2 separate regions of the Homo sapiens genome follow, and region 2 is linked to region 1. Evidence: promoter capture Hi-C in human tissues and cell types (Jung and others, 2019). All regions are on one chromosome and are shown on one strand. The core of a region is centred on a gene start or on the middle of the fragment in contact, and the rest is flanking DNA. Distances in the headings are between cores, read along the strand shown. Region 1 holds the start of CCER1 (coiled-coil glutamate rich protein 1). Region 2 overlaps LOC105369896 (a long non-coding RNA gene).

Region 1 (4,927 bases), core at 1,390-3,889:
AATATTGAATCAGAATATTTCATTTCATGGTATTGAAAGAATATGGGTCAATTAAAAATGTGTCCTTACATTGGTCAACAGGTACAAAGTTACAGGTAGGGAGAAGGAGTAAGTTTTGGTGTTCTAATGCACATCAAGGTGACTACAATGAACACCAATGTATTGTGTATTTCAAAATAGCTATAAGAGAGGATTTTAAATTCTCACCACAATTAAACGACAAATACTTGAATATACTAATTAGCCTAATTTGATCATTTCATAAAGTATATATGTATGGAAATATCACATGGTGCCATATATATATACAATAATTTGTCACTAAAAAAAGAACTATAAAAGTGTCTTTAAAAATTAATTAAATGTCTGACTTTTTGTTTAACATGCTTTAGTGGTAAATTTTCTTGGATGATTTACCAGTACATTCAAAACTTGTATTATAATTCCAATCTCTGTAAAATTAAAATCATAATCAAAATAATAAATTGCTGCTTCTCTTAAGAAAATTCGGGCAAGCCAATAACGTGTCAATGTTGTTCAGTAGGGAGAATAAATATTCTCACCATGCAAAAAGTATATAATGCCAAGATTAACTGTATAAAGGTCACATCAACTGATCAAAAAATGATGTCCTTAATTACCTGTAAAATGAGTTAACCATCTCTTTTAAAACAAAAAGAAACTGATTGGAATTTCAACACAGCAACATGGTCCATCTGTAATGCTCTCAATTAAAACCCATTTTTGCATAACACACGTCCTTAGAAAAAAATAAAACTGGGCTCTCACCATTCCATTTTGAGTACACAGAGCAGGGTCAGAATAACTGCCAAAGGTGAGTCCATATCTAGAAAGGGATACTGCAGGCTAAACATGTCAGCATTCTGTACTTTGAGTCAAGCAGGGGTGTCCTCAGCAAACCACAGAGCAAATGAAATTAAATGAAGCCTGTGGATTCTACAGGTCTCAGGGCAAATGTTGGAGTCCTGATCCAAGACCCCCTATAATGTTCTCAATTTTCAGCCAGGAATGCATAAATGACCTTTGCCAGCTTCAGGGCTTTCACACATTTTGCTTTTCTGGCATTTAATGGAGCCTTATATAGACTGAAGTTCCCAGCAGGCAGTTTTCCATTTTGTGCAATTCCACTCAGCACAGAAAAGTAAGAAAGGGATATAAACTGAGACGGTTTTCTCTAGGACCAAGTATGGTAGCACTTTCCTTGACGTTTTACAAAGAAGGACAAGAAAAGGACACAAGCCAGGGTGGGGATGCCTATTTTTGCATCAAGAACAAGTGCCTTTACATATACTATATCATCTCTTTTAGAAGTCATGAAGTATTTACAAATAAGGATGATAGTTAACAGTTACTGAGTACTTACAGGGTACCTGCACTAAGTACTTGAAGGAATTACAGTAAGTCCTCACTTAGCATCATAGGTTCTTGGAAACTGCTACTTTTAAATGAGAAGACATATAATGAAACGTGGTTTTGTTATTGTTGTTGTTTTGCCTCAGCAACGTTATAAGGAAATGACATTGAGCAAAACATTAATATTAGAGGACCTGTTATATGCATTTAATTCTTTACACAACCGTATGGAAAAGGTAGTATAATCATGGTATGGGTAAGGAAACTGAGGCTTACAGAGATTAATAATTGGTGAGTTGAAGTTGAATCCCATTTATTTAAATTAAAACCCATATGCTTAACCACAATGCTTTAAAGGCTTCCCGTGTATATGCTGTATGGTCAGTGAAGGGACAAAAGGAAAGACAATCAGAATATTCCTCTTCCCAAGGACAAACCTGTGGTATTCATTATGGTAATAATAATATTTGTTTAATTGAGGTACACATGTACGGTATATTACCAATAGCAAAGTACCTTCCCAAATGTTATGTCATTTAGTTATCACAAGGGTCCTACTGGGGGTTTGGTAGAACACATAGCAATGTCATTAGGAACCTAACTTTTGGGTCAAACAGGTTTAGGCTTAAATCGTAGCCTGGAAATTTATTAGCCCCACAACCATGGGGAAATTAAGCTCTCAGTTCCCTCATCTGTGACAGGTGATAAGATACGCCTACCTCTCAGGGTAGATGACAGGATTATTTGTCAGTGAGCACATGCAATAATAAATGTTCGTGGTCTTGTTTTATGTATTATGAATCCCAATTCTCAGGAGTAAGAAGAGTTGGCACCGGCCAGAAGGTAAGAGGTTGGGCAAAGTTTCCTTTCTCCAGTAATTTTCCATGATCCCTTAGGCCCTCCAAAGGTGTAGAATGTGGGGTTTTCAAAACTCAAGTTCTCCCGCCCCCACCGGGTTCAGATGAAGGCCCATCTTCTAAACCCCCGCCTCAAGGTGATACAAAGCTTTCGGATAAACTGCCTCCAGACTTGCTTGAATTGAGCAGCAGAAACCCAGCCTGGACCCCTCTTCACCTCCCCCAAACGCTGCGTCACAAGCCCCCTGCGAATGTTCACCTGGAGCCTGGTTCCGGACAGAACCCGGCCTTGCACACAGGGAGGACGATTTCGACCCCAATTGGCTGTTGCCCTGGGTGACCAAGAACGCAGTGGGCACGCGGGAGACCACAGCCAGTATTTAAAGGCTGCCGCTGCCCTCGCCACCACAGTCCTGCCAGGACGGCGACAGTGAAGCACCTGGGTTGAGAGGGAGCAGCAGGTAACTGCGCAACCCCTGCCTCCCCCGGCCCCAGCCCGTGCCTCAGCAGAGCCGGGTGTGGTGGGGACCCGGGAGTGGGTCTCACTGCGTGTCGCCTGCCAACACCTTCCTCCCCCACCATCCTTACCCAGCCCCAGTCCCACCCAGCACACCTGGGCGAGACAACCCAGGTGCGAAGGACAAGCGATTACTACCGAAGAGCGTGCAAACCAGGAAGAGAGCAGCCTCCTGGAGAGGAAAACGTGATCCCAGGGGTAGACACGTGGCGCTGCGTGGAGAGACAGGTTGACGAGACGAGGCTCTTCTGACCGTCCTACCTGGCAAAACTTGACGACAGCTTCAGGTCGCTACCATCTGGACCTCTCGGAGCTCCCTGAACCATGACTCAGACCCTCGACACAAGGGAAGACCCTCTGAACCTGGGCGGCGGTGGCGGCGGCGGCTGTGGCTGTGGCTGGGCACACTCGGCCTCCTTGAGCTCCTGGTCGTCCTGCCATCGAAGGCGCCCGGGTGCTCCAGCGTACAATAGACCGCACCGATATAGCCCCAAGACCGAGTATGGGCCCCCAAGGAAGCAGCCGAAGCAACAGCACGGCCCGGGCTTTTGGTTCCAACCACCCGTGTGCTCTAACTGGGGGTGCTGGGGAGGGCCCTGGCGCCCACCCCCTCCAGGATTCTGGAAATTCCCCTGCCCGGTGCAAGTGTTTCGGGTGTATGGCCTGCACCCTCTCTGCTTTTGCTGCTGCTCCTGCTGGAGCGGGTCCTGGAACCCTGGCTGGGTGAAGCCCCCAGGCAGGAAGAAGCGCTGGGGCCGCAGAGGCCGCGGCCTGCGCCACCACCCTCGCCACTCCTACCCGCGGAGCCCGCCAGCGGATGTGAGCACGCTGCCGCGGCCGGTCAAGCTGTATGAGTGGAGAGAGCCTGGCATGCGAGCGCCGCCCAACACCACCCAATTCATCATGAACCAGATCTACGAGGACATGAGGCAGCAGGAGAAGGTGGAGCGTCAGCAGGAGGCGCTGCGGGCGCAGAAGGCCACGGTGAGCGGCGAGGCCTCCCCAGCCAGATCCTCCGGAAACGACGCGCCCCCTGGCGGCAGCAAGGAAACCTGGGGACTGCAGGAAACTCTGTATGGCTTTGTGCAGAATCCCTCTCTAGCATTCAGTCCCAACCCAGAGGAAAACCAGTCTCTTGCCCCGCTGCTGGTGGAAGAAGAGGAGGAGAAGAAAAATGATGATGAGGAGGAGTATGACCAGGAGGTGTGTGATGCAAAGGAGGCGAGCGAGGAGGAAGAAGAGGTCGAAGATGAGGAGGAAGAGGTCGAAGATGAGGAGGAAGAAGAGGTCGAAGAGGCTGAATATGTGGAGGAGGGAGAGGAGGAGCTGGAAGAGGAGGAGCTGGAAGAGGAAGAGGAGGTCCTGGAGGAGAACGAGCAGAGAGGGGAAGAATTTCACTTGCCTCTGGAAATGCCTTTATCAATCTTCGTAGAGGCTGAAGAAAAGAGAGAGAACTTTATAAGCTGCACTTTTTTAAACCCAGAGCAGATAATTCCCAAAGTGCCACAGGAATCCCTGTTCATGGCACAGGACTTTAACTGTTAGACATCAGAAAAGGGATTGAGAAAAGGGATGGAACTGATTTGAGGCTAAACTGGATTAGCAATTTATTAAAAACTGATTAAAAAGTGAGTTCCATTAATAAACAGATCTATGTAAACACCTTCTTTGGCCATTATAAAATGTTTAAAATTTGATGCGTATGTGTATGACTATGGGTGGGTGGTGGGGAAGCTTTCAAATATAATTTTACTGGAACTGATTAAAGGCCAAGTATTTTATTACTACCATTTGAATATTTTCATTTGGTGTTTTCCCCTCTAGAAAACAGAGTTGCTGTTGTTTTTTTAAATCTGGCAATGCTGAAAAAGCGTTTGTTTTTGAAACAAATTTATACAACTTGGCCACTTAATGAGCTTGGAATCAAGAGATAGTTTATTACATGCGTAAGAAGCACATTCTAACGCTACTAAATGTTCACCAGTGCTCTTAACATAACTGAAGCCATTTTCAATCCCTGTATTTTTTCAACAATATTTTTCCTCATAGATTTTTCCACCATCAGAGTTCATTTTTGAGGGTTATATTTTGTTAACCTCATTTGCAGGCTCTTGTGTCATCGCTTATTGATATTCCTTGTTCCACAGTGCTATGGATCTTCCTCAGAAGAACATGAAGT
Region 2 (4,927 bases), core at 1,375-3,874, 360 kb before region 1:
TTCAGCTGAAGAGTAAATTTCTACTATTAAAATGTATCCCAACCTATGTTATATAGCATTAGAAAATACTGCAATATTCTTAAATAATATTTGCCTGGAAATTGGATGCATAATTAGAATGCTATTTGTAGTTATTTCAGCTGGAATTATTTGTATTTGTTCTGTGGCTTGAGAATCTTTCCATAGACAGAAGGGATACAGAGCAGACTTTCTCTAGACCAAGCTTCCAACTCACAGGTCTCTCTCTCTCTCTCAAAGCCACATCACATATTTTAAGTAGCCAATTTCACATTTTTTAAAAAGTATCTATCTTGATCACACTGAGATGTGTGGCTCTTAGTATTCAAAGAAAATTGTGTATACAAGAAACAAATTCTAAATCTGAGTTATTACTTTAAAAATATTTTAGAAACCAAAGTTGTCAGATCATCACCTTAGAAAATTTTCTTCCAAAAAATTTTTACTTATGTGATCTGTATACTGGCTAACTCAGTCTCACTGTGGGATCATCTGAAGTCTCAGATCCATGAAACTTTACTGAATATATGGGCTCACATTAGTCTATGTATACTTATGGCACCTGTTGCTCAGTGTTATAGTACTATTTGTCTCATTATTCATCCATTTTAGGGCTCCACTCTCTGTAGAGAAATTGAGATCCCAAAGTGTATGACTTGCTTATTACATGTCTTTGACATGAGCAAAGCACCAACCAGACTATAAGAATTCTCCCTAAAATATAAATGTAATCAAATTATGTGGAAACAAATTTTGGACAAATTACTCTTGAACAACAACAACAAAATCTGATACACAGAAAATGAAAACATAAATTATTTGTATTTATTAATTTTGACCCATGATTTTGTGCTCAGCTGATATGTAATCATTATTTATTGATGCATCATGAAAAGTCTTTTCTTTTTTCTGATTCCATGTTGGGCAAAATGTAATTTATAATTACCATCCGTTTTGTGATGGTAAAATATCCATTTAGAACAAAAAAAAATGTAAAAATCCATCTCAATTAAAAACGACAAAATAGTGTTTACTAGCTTAAATTTTTCCATCTACATATAAATTTTGTTCATCACCATTAGGTTACTGATATTAGTTAAATTGCAAACATTTCTAACCTGCCCTGTCTCAAATTTAGTAGTACGAAGTCAATATCTTCTGAGGTTCCTTTTTAACAAAAATTGGAAATTAAAAGGAGACTGGGAAACTGTAATTTTGCTGTAGCTTGAACTTGTTCAGATTAGAAAAGGGACCAAGTTCTGAAAAAAACTCTTCTCTGGATAACGTCCAGTACTACTGTATGCCAAATACCCTTTTTTTCCCCTGTAAAGTGAGAAAAGGGGTTTTTTTTAATAAAGAAAAAAATTATTGAAAAGGATTTATGTTCTTTCTACCGTGACTGTAATCAGTTTTGCTAATCTCACATTTTTACTTATCTTGACATCAGGGTTATTTTTTTTTTAATTCTTTCATTTTTATTTTTTTAAAACTCTAACTTACCTAGAATGACTTATGATTAAACAACTTCCCAACACAGTTATAGATCTATTAAGGGACAAAAGCCAAGCAAAGTATATATGGATAAAATGATGTCGGCAAATTTTTAAATTTACAAACATTAAAAATAGAGACATTGTCTTTTATCTCTCTGAATATTTATATTTACAATATAAAATGAAGTCATGAAGCTATGCCCATCTGTTTATTTTTTAAAATCCGTGGTGTCAACAGTTTAAAAGTTTCCAGTAAAAAGCAGGAATGAAAGCATTCTTGTGGGATGTAGTCAAATCAAGGAATTCTGTCCAGATCTTGAAAACAAACAAGAGTTTTGGCTTATTTTGCAGAAGAGTTTGGATCATGCATGTAACTTTAATAATTTGTAAACACTTTTGCAACTGAATATATATACAACATATATCAGTATATATATTTTAATTAGAAGCAAAGTGCTAAGGAGACACCATGTAGGTTAATGACTGTAAAAATCTTGGTGACATAAAGCATAGTTTAGAAGCTGGTGGTGTTGACTGTAGATAGGCTACCAGCATGGAAGGAGGATATTGAAACTGGGAGGAATCACTTGTGTCTGGGTATTATTTACTGGGACTTGACTATGAACATGACACTAGAGAATATCAAAGCATCCATGGTCTTTCATTGTTCCCTTAGTCTATGCTCCACCATGCTACGCTCCATCTGGGCCTTAGAAAGCTAATTTCTGCAAACTGCCTCACTGTAATTTCTTTGCCAGCTGGCTTCTGCTTCTAACCAGACAGTGGTCCTAGTGCACTGAGATAGGAAGGTGGGAGGAGAGGAAGTTGTACATTACCTTGTCCTTGGTAATAACTTTTTTTCCTTTTTCCCACTAGAAAGCAACATTTTTGCAATTCTAATCCTCAGTGAATGCTGGTAACACCATTTCTTCCTCATGCCTCTTTGGTCCTGTGAGAGGAAATTACTTTCAGCTGTTGCTAGTCTCAGCATGCTCCACCATCCCTGATTTACTCCTTTTGCTATTCCTATACCTCAGAAAGTACAATACATTAATGTTTTGTTTTGTTTTTCAGTTGAACAATCTGAAGTGAGTTCTGTTTCTTGTCAGGACTCCAGACAATAAAAATAACTGTATTCTTTACAAGTAGAATATCCAAATGCAGAATAATAACATTGGATTTTTATTTCACACTAAAGACAAAAATAAACTCAAGATGGATTAAAGAAAGAAATTTAAGACCTAGAATTGTAAAACTACTAGAAGAAAAACGTAGGGGAAAAGCTCCACAACATTGTTCTAGGCAATGATTTCTTTGATATTACCCCAAAAGCACAGTCAACAAAAGCAAAAATAGACAAATGAAATTTCATCAAACTAAAAAAACTTTACAACAACAACAAAAAAAAAAAGAGTTAAAAGAAAAATTACAGATTAAAAGAAAATACTTGCAAACCATATAGCTGATAAGGGACAAATATCCAAAATATATGAAACTTAAACAATTCAATAACAGGAAAACAACCCAATTAATTAAAACATGGGCAAAGAACTTTGCTATGGTCTGGCTGTCCCCCAAAACTCATATGCTGAAACAACTACCAGTGTGATAGTATTAAGTGGTGTGGCCTGTAGAAGGTGATTAGTCATGAGGCCTTCTCTCTTCTGAATGGGACTAAGGCCCTTAAAAAGAGGCTTATTCAGCATTCAGCCCTTTTGCCTTTTCACCTTCCACTATGTGAGGACACAGCAATGATGCACCATCTTGGAAGCAGAGGGCAGCCCTCGCCAGCCATGGAACTTGTTGATGCCTTGATCTTGGACTTACATAGCTCCAGAACTGTGAAAAACAAATTACTGTTATTTACAAATGATCAAGTCTGTAGTATTTTATTATGTCAGCACAAATGAATTAAGGCAAACCTCAAGAGACATTGCTTAAATGAAGAAATATAAAAGGTGACTAGATATATGAAAAAATGCTCAACATCTCTAATCATCAGGAAAATGCAAATTAAACCACAACAGAATATCACCTAACACTTATTAGAATGGCTATTATTCAGAAAATAAAATATAAACATTAGGAGGTGGAGAAATGAATCATGGTAAATGGTTAGTGGGAATATAACTTAGTACAACCATAATGAAAAACAGGATTTTGAAAAAACTGAAAATTGAATTATCATATGATCTAGCAATCCCACTTCTGGCTATATATTCAAGAGAATCAATATCAGTATGTTGAAAAGATAATCTGTATTCCCATGTACATTGCTGCATTGTTCACAATAGCCAAGATAGGAAAGTAATCTCAGTGTCCATCAATAGATGAACTGATAAAGAAAATGTGTTATATATGCACAATGGAACACTATATAGCCTTAAAAAAGGAGGAAATTCTGTCATTTGTTTCAACACTGATGAACTAGAAAACATTATGCTAAGTGAAATAAGCCAGGCACAGGAAGACAAATACTGCATGATCTCACTTACATGTATAATCTAAAATATTCAAATTCACAGAAGTAGAGTAGAATGGTGGTTACCAGGAGCTGGGGACTGGGAGAGGCAGTGGGAAAATAGGGGAAGGAGAGATGTTGACCAAAGGGTACAAGGCTTCAGTTTGACAGGAGAAATACATTTCAGTGATCTATTGAACAGCATGATGTCTATACTTAATAGTGATATATTGTGTATTTCAAAATTGTTCAACGAGTAGATTTTAAGTGTTCTCACTACAAATAAAAAATAGGTGAAGTGATAGATATGTTAGCTTGATTTAATTGTAATATTCTACAGTATACACTGTATGCATATACATCAAAATATCTCATTGTGCCCTGTAAAAATATAGGATTATTATATGTCAATTAAACATGTTTAAAAAGTGGATATCTGTACAATGTGAAAAGAAAGGGTGGGCTTTGCTTATTATCTCACTGGCCATGGAAATATAATTGAGATAATTAAGACACTTAGCCAAGTAAAAATTATGAAAATTGAAAAAAATTATACCTATTGTATACTTTTAAAAAACAATTATGAAAGGAAATAGTAATTAACATTACTGATTGATTGCAACATGTTAGCTGCATCCCTGTGAATTAAGCACTATTGGTACCTCCATTTTAAAATATAGAAACTGGTTGGGTGTGGTGGTTTACGCCTGTAATCCCAGCACTTTGGGAGGCCAAAGAAGGAGGATCACTTGAAGTCAGGAGTTTGAAACCAGCCTGGTCAACATGGTGAAACCTGGTCTCTACTAAAAATACAAAAATTAGCCAGGCATGGTGTATGTGCCTGTAATCCCAGTTACTCAGGAGGCTAAGGCATGAGAATTGCTTGAACCCAGTTGAGGGTTCAGTGAGCCGAAGCTGCAGTGAGCCGAGATGGTGCCATTGCACTCCAACCTGG

Evidence for each region. Contacts are between HindIII fragments. The study calls those that stand out against the background at their distance.
Region 2: a contact is called between a fragment that was not itself captured here and the fragment with the promoter of CCER1 in region 1, in 1 of the 25 tissues and cell types used here (IMR-90 fibroblasts).

What each region holds. Positions count from the first base shown.
Region 1 is chr12:90,952,888-90,957,814 of GRCh38, reverse strand. CCER1 (coiled-coil glutamate rich protein 1) reads left to right here and starts at 2,639. Exons shown (of 1, transcript NM_152638.4): 1 at 2,639-4,927. The coding sequence starts at 3,073. The coding sequence ends at 4,293. RefSeq lists an enhancer at 3,631-3,730. The HindIII fragment of the contact is 9,241 bases long and covers 1-4,927 here.
Region 2 is chr12:91,313,879-91,318,805 of GRCh38, reverse strand. The region is part of intron 8 of LOC105369896 (a long non-coding RNA gene); the gene reads left to right. It overlaps LOC107984544 (a long non-coding RNA gene), which reads right to left. Exons shown (of 3, transcript XR_001749252.2): 2 at 3,239-3,350; 3 at 2,352-2,460. Among named protein-coding and RNA genes, the nearest start is that of LINC02823, 11 kb to the left of the region's middle. The HindIII fragment of the contact is 5,212 bases long and covers 19-4,927 here.